Linked DNA regions of Homo sapiens: all the other regions are linked to region 1. The links are contacts of gene promoters, found by promoter capture Hi-C in blood cells and fetal thymus (Javierre and others, 2016). All regions are on one chromosome and are shown on one strand. Each heading gives the region's core, a stretch centred on a gene start or on the middle of the fragment in contact. The rest is flanking DNA. Distances are from core to core; before and after follow the strand shown.

Region 1 (3,336 bases), core at 436-2,935:
TGAAATCTCATTTGTGACCCCGATAGAACTCCACAAAATTAAATCTTAGGAATTGAAGAACAGCTTACAGCTTTTTTTTTTTCTTTTCTTGCTTTTTTTTTTTTTTTTTAAAGAGATGGGAATCTTGTTGCTACCCAGGCTGGAGTGCACTGGCTCGATCATTGCTCGCTGCAGCCTTGGACTCCGGGGGGCTCAAGCAATTCTCCCGCCTTAGCCTCCTGGTAGCTGAGACCACAGATGCAAGCCACCACATCTGGATGATTTTTGTATTTGTTGTAGAGATGAGGTCTTGCCATGTTGCCAAGGCTGATCTCTAACTTCTGCCCTTAAGGTATCCTCCCATCTTGGCCTCCCAAAGTGCTGGGATTACAGGCGTGATCCACTGTGTCTAGCAAAAATAACTTTAAAATTCTGTTCAGATTATGAACAGCTGAACAGTAGTCAGTAGCAACTGATGGCTTTTTTGTTAGCTTAATAAATGGATAAAGAAATAGATTGGTAGGTTTTTCTTTTAGAAAAAGTTTATATATAGTGTGTGTTGTGCTGTGTGTTTAAACACATTTAAAAATTCATGTATAGATTTATCAGTCAGTTTGGAAAGCAGATGAATTCCAGAATCCTGAGAAAGTTATCGTAGGGTACCCTTGGTTAGGTGCACAGTGAAGGGCAAACAATAGCTGGCGTTTGACATTACCCAACATTGTTGGAGGCTTCTTTTCCTAAGTAAGTAAATAAATAAATAAATAAAAATCAAGGTTTACTCCTCACAACATATTTTAGTCTGTAGTCTAGGGGTGACCCTTCGGTGAGGAAACTCCTCCACAACATTCCATTTTGTTGTTTCCAGGAACACAAAAGTTAAAACTATATAGTCCATGTAGATTCAACGTATTCCTTTAAACCAGAAGACAGCCAGTGCTGCTGTTCAGGCTCTTTAAAGCTTATATAGGATACAAGTAAACTCAAGGAATTCACCGTACTGCCAGTGATAGTTTCCCTTAAATAAAGAGATGATACTTTTACTATAAGATTTTTGCTGCTATTTATCATGGAAGACAAAACACCGAAGAAATTCAGTTTGCAGTTGGTGGTCCAAATACTAACTGGAACAGATGGGCCAATTAAATCTACAAGAGACTGAACTATCCCTCGTGCTTAACACTCAGAGTCAGCAAGAAACATGCGTCTCTCTACAAGCAGGTACTTTAGCAACGTGTGACTCTTGAGTATGATAATCTATCGTAATCGCTAACGGAAGCAATCAGGTGCACGTAAAGAGGTTGGGGATCAGCTTCTGGTCACAAAAAACCGAGCAAGGATAATTCCACTACAAATGACTATTAGCTTTAGTGAAAAAGAATGGTAAGTTACACGGTGTAGATGAACTTTACAAGGCGAGAGCTCCCTAAAGAACACCCAGCCTGGCGGAGGGCAGCAGGCTCCACCCATGTCTCTGCAGTTTTGGTCCGGCCTCGGACTAACTACACCCTAGCAGCGGGAAACTTTCGCGTGTGCGCAGTAGGCCTGTCCAGTGCCGCGTGGGAAAGGCGGGACTTTCCTATCTCTTGCGTCACATCCACTGCGACGCAAGACGTCACCGGCTTGACTGGGAAGGTCAATCGCGGCTGCAGGCAGGCGCGCATGCGCTTTATGCCCGCTGTTGCTGGCGCGTGCGCGTATCAGCCTTGGCTGGCCGGTGTATGTCCGCTGGATTGTGAGGCCCGGGATCTGGGCTCCGCCGTGGTGCAGAAATGCTGTGCCGGCTCGGCGGTCGGTGGCTGCGGCCGCTCCCTGCCCTGCAGCTTTGGGCTAGGGACCTGCCGCTTGCGCCGGTTCCTACGAGCGGCGCCAAGCGCCCCACTCTCCCAGTGTGGGCAGTGGCACCAGTCTCTGCAGTACATGCGAACGGCTGGTACGAGGCCCTGGCCGCGTCTTCGCCGGTGCGGGTTGCGGAGGAAGTACTGCTCGGCGTGCACGCCGCCACGGGCCTGCCCTGGTGGGGCAGCATTCTGCTCTCCACCGTGGCCTTACGGGGTGCTGTCACGCTGCCTTTGGCAGCCTACCAGCACTACATCCTGGCCAAGGTGAGGGGCGCCGAGCCGTGCGCGTACCCTGCGCTGCAACCCCTGCGGCGGAGGAAGGCCGACATTCACTCAGGGTTTTCGATCGCACGATGTTGCCTTCTGCAGTGCTTAGTGTTTAATCATCGTGACCATTTCATTGTGACCATTTTAGCGTTAAAAAAAATTGAACTAGCATTAGGTGTGTTAAATAAGATACTTTGTGACACGTGTACCTGTCATTTCTTTTGTCTTACTGGATTTGTGCTCCAAGCACAAGTGGTTACTATACTTGCTCTCGGGGAACGGAGACAAAGAAATCAGTCGCAGAAGAAATTGTGTTGGCGAAACCTACAAAATTTATGTCTTAAAAGTTTTAATAGCCAGTATGTCTGCAGTGTCTTTCGTCCCAAAGTATTCCAGCTGGTCTTTCTTATTAGGAAGAAACTACTAGACTAACAGTTTGCGAACTTGTTTCCTCTCCAGACCCGACTAAGACTGTGTCTGGTTGGTCGCAGTTACTTGACCTTTTAATGCTGAATCCTTTTTTCTGAGGAATCAGGCTAGCAGTACCTTCCTTGCCTACTTCACAGCGTTATCAGAGCAAGTCAGATAATACGGGTTAAAGTGCTTGATTATTCAAATGGGATATTTCAAAAATAGTGGCTTTCTTGTTTTCAGGTTGTGAGCATGGGGAAAAAAAACCGGAAACAAAACAGGAACGGAATCAGCAGCAACATTAAGGCAGTGAGCCATTTTACAGGAAGAATGAGCACAGGGCAGGAATAAATGCTATTTTTACTTTTGATTTGTGGCTATCACAGTGTATTAAAGGTTCTTAACAAACTGCTGTTTTCTCCGCTTACGTTACTAGGAAATGTAGAGATGGAACAGTAAAGCCCAGGGTGCAGTTCTTATCTAATATTTGTAACCCTGTGAAGTAGGTGCTGTTATATATTTTATATGTGAGGGAACATGATTTTAGAGGTTAAGTTACTTGCACAGGATCACATGGATAAGTATGCATTGTGAATTTGGTTGTGACTGAGGACATTTTAAGCAAATTAACATCTTGTGCTTAGAATTAAGATTTCTTGATATGATCAGTAAACTACATTTTTAAATGACTCGAGGGAATAATGTGAAAGATTATGAGTCATTATGAATAAAGATCCTTTATGTGCTCATAACAAAACCTATTTTTTAGCTAGGTGGAAAATTTGCAGCCAGAAATAAAAACTATTGCCAGGCATCTTAACCAAGAAGTTGCAGTTCG
Region 2 (3,336 bases), core at 583-3,082, about 20 Mb after region 1:
ACACCTGGGTTTCTTTGAAGGCAAGTCAAAACTCATGCCCTATATGAAGCTTTTTCTGACTTCTTCCTTTTTCTCTTAGAATTTATTTTTCCTCCTTCTTGACTCCTATACAAAAAATTTTAAAAAGTATTTGCTTCTGTAACATTTTATTGCACTTGTTTTACATGTGTGGGTCCCTTTATTTCATCATAATTATTTTGAAATCAGGGCTGTGGTTTAGTTTTCTTTATATCCTTAAAACCCAGACAGTGTTTGGAATACTGTACGTATTTATTAAAAATTGGCTGGATATATTATTATGTGGAATTTTTTTTTTTTTTGAGACAGAGTCTCGCTCTGTCGCCCAGGCTGGAGTGCAGTGGTGCCATCTTGGCTCACTGCAACCTCTCCCTCCTGGGTTCAAGTGATTCTCCTGCCTCAACCTCCCGAGTAGCTGGGATTACAGGTACCTGCCACCATGTCCAGCTATTTTTTGTACTTTTAGTAGAGACGGAGCTTCACCATGTTGGCCAAGCTGGTCTTGAGCCCCTGACCTCAGGTGATCTGCCCACCTCGGCCTCCCAAAGTGTTGGGATTACAGGCATGAGCCACCGCGCCTGGCCATGGATATTAATTGAACATTCATTCAACGAACATTTATTGAACACCTGTTATAAGTGTTGGGGATACCAAGCATCTAGTGCATAATTTAGCAAAACAGATAGTTTAAAGAAAATAGTGTTAATACTTACCCCATGATATGGCAAGTACTTAGCGAATGTATCAATTGAGTGGTTTGATAGGTGGGGGAAGTGAGAGGTGATAGGGTGATAGTGGTGGTGAGTTAGAAAAAGTCTCTCACAGGCAGTACTGTTGGAATGATTATTTTCGGTAAGTTTACCAGGTAAATTCTTTGTGGATTAGGTAATGAATTTTATTAACCATTGCATCTTTGAAGCTTAGCACAGAGATTATACTTAGTAATGTAAGTATATTGGTGGAACAAACAGAACCCATAAAACATTTTGGGTTCAGCCTATTGACTTCATTGTATCGGTACAATTTTTCTCCATGTTGGGAATAGCTGGAGAGAAATTGAGAAATCAAGAAGGATGTTGATGCTTTTTAAAGAGTGTGGATGTATCCTATAGGCAACTGGGCTAGGAGAAGCTTTTAAGCAGGAAAGTTGTAGGACCAACTTTGTTTATTAGGAAGAAAATAGAATTGGAGGGTAAAGAGATCAAAAGTCAGAAAATGTTGGGAGATCATTGCCTGGGTGAGCGATGATGTTGGGTTTTTGTGACAGCAAAAATGGAGAGGAAGGGCTGAATTCTGAGAGTTTTTAAGCCTATAAGATGTAGTGACGATGAGATGAGGGAGGAAAGATGGAGAAAGTGAAAATGAGAACAACAGGGTTTGTTATGAGGCTTGTGGGCGATAACGTATGTGACAGCAATCTATAAACCCAAAATATTGCACACGGTTGTTTTTATTATCTTTTTCTAGTTGCTCTGAGTTTAGATTGAGAAGGTGGCTGTACTTTTGGAGACGTGTTCATATCTAAGGAAGATACCAAATTTCGGATTAGGTTTTTATTTCGGAGACTTTTCAAGGAACATGAGAAGATTATCTGAGAAGATTATCTGCGCAGACAGGCCGAGCGACGGAAAGAACTCAGTTCAGCTCCATCTCAGGAAACACCTGATCTCCACGAGCTTTTGAGGAAGCCCGGAGCCACAGAGCCCCACCCACTTCTTTCCCGACCGCGCCATCCTTCCTCACTCCCGGCCTCCTCTCTAGCCAATCACCGCTCAGTTTAACGTCATCACCGAGCGCCATCAGGGAGCGTGTCAGAGGCCGACCACGTGTACTGTGGAGACTGTCAAAGTCTCCCGGAGCCCAATTTCCGGAAGCGGTGAGTTCTGAAAGAAGTTCCTGCACCGTAGTTTCCCAAGTCTGCGAATCCCCAACCATGAGCGCCTCGGGCGTACTGTCCTTTACCCAGCAAGGATGGGAGCAGGTGCTGGCCAAAGTGAAACGGGCTGTGGTTTACCTGGACGCCGCCTGCGCCGAGAGCCTGCACTGGGGCTGCGGATCCACCCGTCTCCTGGAGGCGGTGGGGGGTCCTGACTGTCACCTGCGAGAGTTCGAGCCCGACGCAATTGGTGGTGGAGCCAAGCAGCCCAAGGCAGTGTTTGTGCTGAGCTGCCTGCTGAAAGGCCGGACCGTGGAGATCCTACGGGACATCATCTGCCGCAGTCACTTCCAGTATTGTGTGGTGGTCACAACCGTGAGCCACGCTGTCCACCTCACAGCTAATCATGTCCCAGCGGCGGCAGCGGCCGAGATGGAGGGGCAGCAGCCGGTGTTCGAGCAGCTGGAGGAGAAGCTGTGTGAATGGATGGGCAACATGAACTACACGGCCGAGGTGTTCCATGTCCCGTTATTGCTTGCCCCTGTTGCTCCCCACTTTGCCTTGACTCCAGCTTTTGCATCCCTTTTCCCACTGCTACCCCAGGATGTGCACCTCCTTAATAGCGCCCGACCGGACAAGAGGAAGCTGGGAAGCCTGGGTGATGTGGACTCCACTACGCTAACCCCAGAGCTGCTGCTGCAGATCAGATGCCTAGTGTCAGGCCTCAGTTCTCTGTGTGAACATTTAGGAGTACGGGAGGAGTGTTTTGCTGTAGGTTCCTTAAGTCAGGTCATCGCTGCGGATCTGGCCAATTATGCCCCTGCAAAGAACAGGAAGAAGACTGCTGCAGGCAGGGCATCAGTGGTTTTTGTGGACAGAACCCTGGATCTCACAGGTAAGTGCATTGCTCTGGAGTTCTTCATTACCATTCCCCACATTGCTGGGACTTTCATTGATTCAGCATATATTTTATTGACCTTTTATTATATATTAGATTGAGGATACAAAGATGAACTAGATGGACACGGTCTCTAATCTCACAGAGTTTATTGTCTAAAGTGGAATACAGACAGGTGAATTAGCAATTACAATAACATTTGTTAAATGCTGTAATGGGTAGAAATGTCATAAATGCCCATTGCCTTGTTAAACAACAACTTTAGCCCAAGATTATGCTGACAGGGAGGAAAACTGTGCACCTGGGAAATTTTATTTTTAGAAATTTACGAATGCCAGTATTCACAACAGTCCTTCATAAGAAGACTCTGGTTTGTTGGAGAAGTGTTAATAGATGACCCAGCGGAAGGAAAACTACTGCACAAGAAAACATAAAATTATTACAGACAATTGAGGTTTAGGAAATGAGTGTTCAAAAGTGAGGCTGAACTTAAATGTTACTAGTAAATGAGATGAAATAGAATTGTAGAAAATATTTTCAAATG
Region 3 (3,336 bases), core at 334-2,833, about 16 Mb after region 1:
CTAATTGCTCCCTAACCCCTAACTGCCACCCCAAATGGAATTTTAACGATTGTTAGGAAGACCGTCCAGGCACAGCCCGAAAGCCCAACGTGCTGCACGAATTCCTCCGTGCTGCTGCCACCAGCGCCTGCCTCGGCGGCGGCATTCCTAACTGAAATAGGCATTCGGCCATTTTCTCAAAATACCAAACACAAAGCAGCTCTTTGCAAACTCGGGCGCTCTCGCTTCCTCTCGCCTCGGCCCGCTCACTGCACACATTTACACACCAACTCGCGGGAGTCGCCCCGACACTCGTCCTGAGCCTTTTCCTGCGCTCTCCAACACTAAAACGGGGGAGGGGATCAAGCTCGAGGCGCTGTTTGGCCGGAACCAGTCCTCCCCGAGTCCAGGCAGCCCCCTCCCCAGCCCTAGGGCCCCCGTCCCGGGAGAGGACGGAAAGTTACCGCGCAGCCGGCGTCCGGGCTTCTCCGACCGCCCCCGGGCCCCTCCGACCGCCCCGGGGCTCGCCCAACGCCCAGGGCCGGGGAGGCTCCGCGGGCGCCCTCGCGAGGCGTCGGGCTCCGAGCGCCGGAGGGGGCCCCCACACGGGCCAGCCGCCACCCCCGCGCCCCGGAAGTTTGCGAACTTCACTCCCCCACGGCGCCCGGCAGGACGCGCGCCCCAGCCCCGCCAGCTCCAGCGGTCGGGTGGCCGGACGCGGGGGCCAGCGGCGCCGGACGGCTGAAGCGCAGAAATCGCTGTCCAGCCCCGCAGGCGGAACCGCCCGGGCCCCGGGGCTGACTCAACCCGCCCGGCCGCACTCAACGGCGCCTTCCGGCGACAGGGAGAGGCCCTGGGGGAGGGGGCCAGGAGGGCCGCGGGCCGGCGCGGGGCTGCGGTGGGACCCGGGGGCAGGAGGAGGAAGCAGAGGAAGTTTCAGGACTACGGGCCCGAGCAGCTCCGCTCCTTGGCCTCAAAGGACCTGACTCGGTGGAGCGTCCGGGCCAGCGCGGAGGCGGCGTCCCAGCCTCCAGTGGGGAGGGGGTCCAGGCGACGCGCTGCTCCCAACAAACGCCCCCAGCCCCCGGGCGGCTGCTGTGTAACCCGATCCTGCTCGGCCGCCAGCCCCCGCCCGGCGGGGCCGCCGCCGCCGGAGCCACAGTATCTGCAAATCAGCCCTGGACAGCGCCTGACTCCGCGTCCTTCCGCGCCCTCCCCGTCCCGCCACTGCCGCCGCCCGGGCGGCCCTCCCCCACCCTGACCGAGCCCCCAGCCCAGCGCCCCACTTACCGGCCTTCCTCGGTGAGGAGGGGCGGGCGACCCTGAGTCGCCGCTCCTTCTCCGACTACTTTTCTTTGTTGCTGGAGTTTCGGGGGAGAGGTGGGGGAGGGTGGTAAAGTTGGGTGCTGGGGCCGTCGTGGACCAAGAAGGCCCAGGAGTGGGGCTGCAGAGGGTGCTCAGGCCTCCGGGCCTCGCCCTGCCGTCTCGGCTGCGGCAGCCGCCGCCAGGGTCTGGGGCCCCGGGCCTCGGCGGCGCTCGCTCCGCTGCTGCGCCGCGAGCTCGCGGCAGCCGCACATTCCAACACAGGACGCTGCGCCGCGCACCCAGTCCGCGCCGCCGCCGCCGCCACCGCCCGCGGGACACGCCCCCTCCGACGCCCGCGCGCGCCCGCGAGACACGCCCCCTCCGACGCCCGCGCGCGTGGCCGCTAGGCGCGCCCCGCCCCTCTACCAAGCAAGGAGTGCCCCAGTCTCCAGCTCGCCTGGGGGCGCGTCTAGGGGGAGCCGCCCGTAATCCTCCCGGCCCCTCACTCCTGCCCTTAGGTCAGAAAAGAGGCGGGCCCCACTCCCTTTCTCGATTTCTATTACAAACAAACAACAAAAGTTCCCCCCAGCCCTGGCGTGCATGCATGAGAATAGAGCTGTTAAAAGAAGAATCCGCAGGCTTTGACGGGTCTCTTTAGAGCTATTGTCACCGGCCTCTCAAGTCTAAAGCGCTCCAAGATACCCTTCAGATCTCTTCAAGTCTCCACCCATAGCTGTCCTTGACTAATTAAGCTTCGTTTTAAGCGTCTGCGGTAAAAAAAAAAAAAAAAAAAAAAAGTCTTCCAAATTTCAAACTACCGGAGGGGGAATGCAGTCAGTTTGGGAGAAGTGAGAAGAAAACGTTTCAGGAAGGAGGTTATGGACTCAGAAAGCGTGAGCGTGAGGACTGAGGGGACAGATCCCTAGACGTGGCAGGTAGCAGGTCATTGCTGAGCCCGGAAAGCACGACTGCAGGGGAGGAATTACCCTCAGATGACAGAAGAAAAGGTGGTGAGGACGGGGAGGCTGCCTGGGGCCACGGTGTGTCGGAGTAACCGGGCTCACGTCTATGAAGCGGGATAACCAAGCGGAATGCCTAGCCCATAGTCATGTGCTAACAAAAACAAAAACAACAAAAAAGAACAGAGAGAGAGTAATTCCACCCCCTTTCACACCTGAAAGAGCTTCTCAGTCTGCCTTTGATACCTTCCTAAACGTCAGTCGTAAGTCACACCTGTCCTCAGAAGCATAGTGGCTCCCCATGACTACAAGCTTAAAGCTTAAACCCCTTAGTGTGGCGTTCAAGCCCCTACTTAACTTGACCTAGATAAGTCTGACTATTGCTTGGTATTACAACATAAGTAGCAAGTGCTATGGGGGTTTGCCAGTAGGAAGATGGATCCCAAGAGGTTCTAGAAACTTTTCACAGTAGATGTATTCAGTCTGACCTTGGAGAATGAGGAAAACTTCAACAGGTGGAAAGTAGGGCAAGGAACACTCTACACAGTGAAAAGGGCAAGCTCAAAATCCCAAAGCAGTTGTTAAGACATCCCAGCTTCTCCTCAGGGTACCTCACTTCCTTCTCTTTGAAGTTCCTTTATTTGTTTCTCTTAGGGCAGGGCTTCCAGACTCTTCATTTCCTGGTATACCCACGTAGGACCTCTGTTTCCCTCTATCTGGACAATATATTACTAATTAATGCAGTCTCCGATGCAAGATGAAATGAAGACCCTAAGGTGCTCGACCACCAAAAGTTTCAATGAGGCAATTTCAAATGTAACACCTCTCCATGAATCAAACCTGAAAAGTATTCATTTTCATTGAACCAAAGAGACAGGAAGGAAGGGAGGGAGGGAGGGAGGAAAGGAAGATCGACATTTTTAGGACTGGTACAAACTTTTCTATATATATTTTATTTGTTTAACTAAAATCAAGTTTGAGGTCACATGGCTTTTTTAGATGCTGTAGCCCAGGGTACAATTCAGGCCTCTACCAAGGTTGTCAAAGACATAAACTTGTTTTCTTTCCCTTTTTTAGGTCCAAAAAGGCAAAA

The links. The method cuts DNA at HindIII sites, captures the fragments that hold promoters and counts their contacts. A CHiCAGO score of 5 or more calls a contact.
Region 2: the fragment with the promoter of SCFD2 here is called in contact with the fragment with the promoter of COX18 in region 1 in 1 of 17 cell types (monocytes); the score reaches 6.5 in monocytes.
Region 3: a contact is called between the fragment with the promoter of REST here and the fragment with the promoter of COX18 in region 1, in 1 of 17 cell types (total B cells). The highest score is 5.5, in total B cells.

What each region holds. Positions count from the first base shown.
Region 1 is chr4:73,068,065-73,071,400 of GRCh38, reverse strand. It overlaps COX18 (cytochrome c oxidase assembly factor COX18), which reads left to right and starts at 1,685. Exons shown (of 6, transcript NM_001297732.2): 1 at 1,685-2,084; 2 at 3,272-3,336. The coding sequence starts at 1,752. It overlaps LOC112268467 (a long non-coding RNA gene), which reads right to left and starts at 1,455. Exons shown (of 2, transcript XR_002959797.2): 1 at 1,372-1,455. RefSeq lists enhancers at 1,334-1,850, 1,397-1,916, 1,851-2,366. The HindIII fragment of the contact is 3,732 bases long and covers 943-3,336 here.
Region 2 is chr4:53,364,557-53,367,892 of GRCh38, reverse strand. It overlaps SCFD2 (sec1 family domain containing 2), which reads left to right and starts at 1,832. Exons shown (of 9, transcript NM_152540.4): 1 at 1,832-2,789. The coding sequence starts at 1,952. RefSeq lists enhancers at 1,867-1,916, 1,937-2,136, 2,357-2,406. The HindIII fragment of the contact is 6,997 bases long and covers 1,152-3,336 here.
Region 3 is chr4:56,906,147-56,909,482 of GRCh38, reverse strand. It overlaps REST (RE1 silencing transcription factor), which reads right to left and starts at 1,583. Exons shown (of 4, transcript NM_005612.5): 1 at 1,270-1,583. RefSeq lists enhancers at 1-266, 1,197-2,126 and silencers at 357-1,206, 1,317-1,706, 1,806-2,100. The HindIII fragment of the contact is 2,443 bases long and covers 1-2,038 here.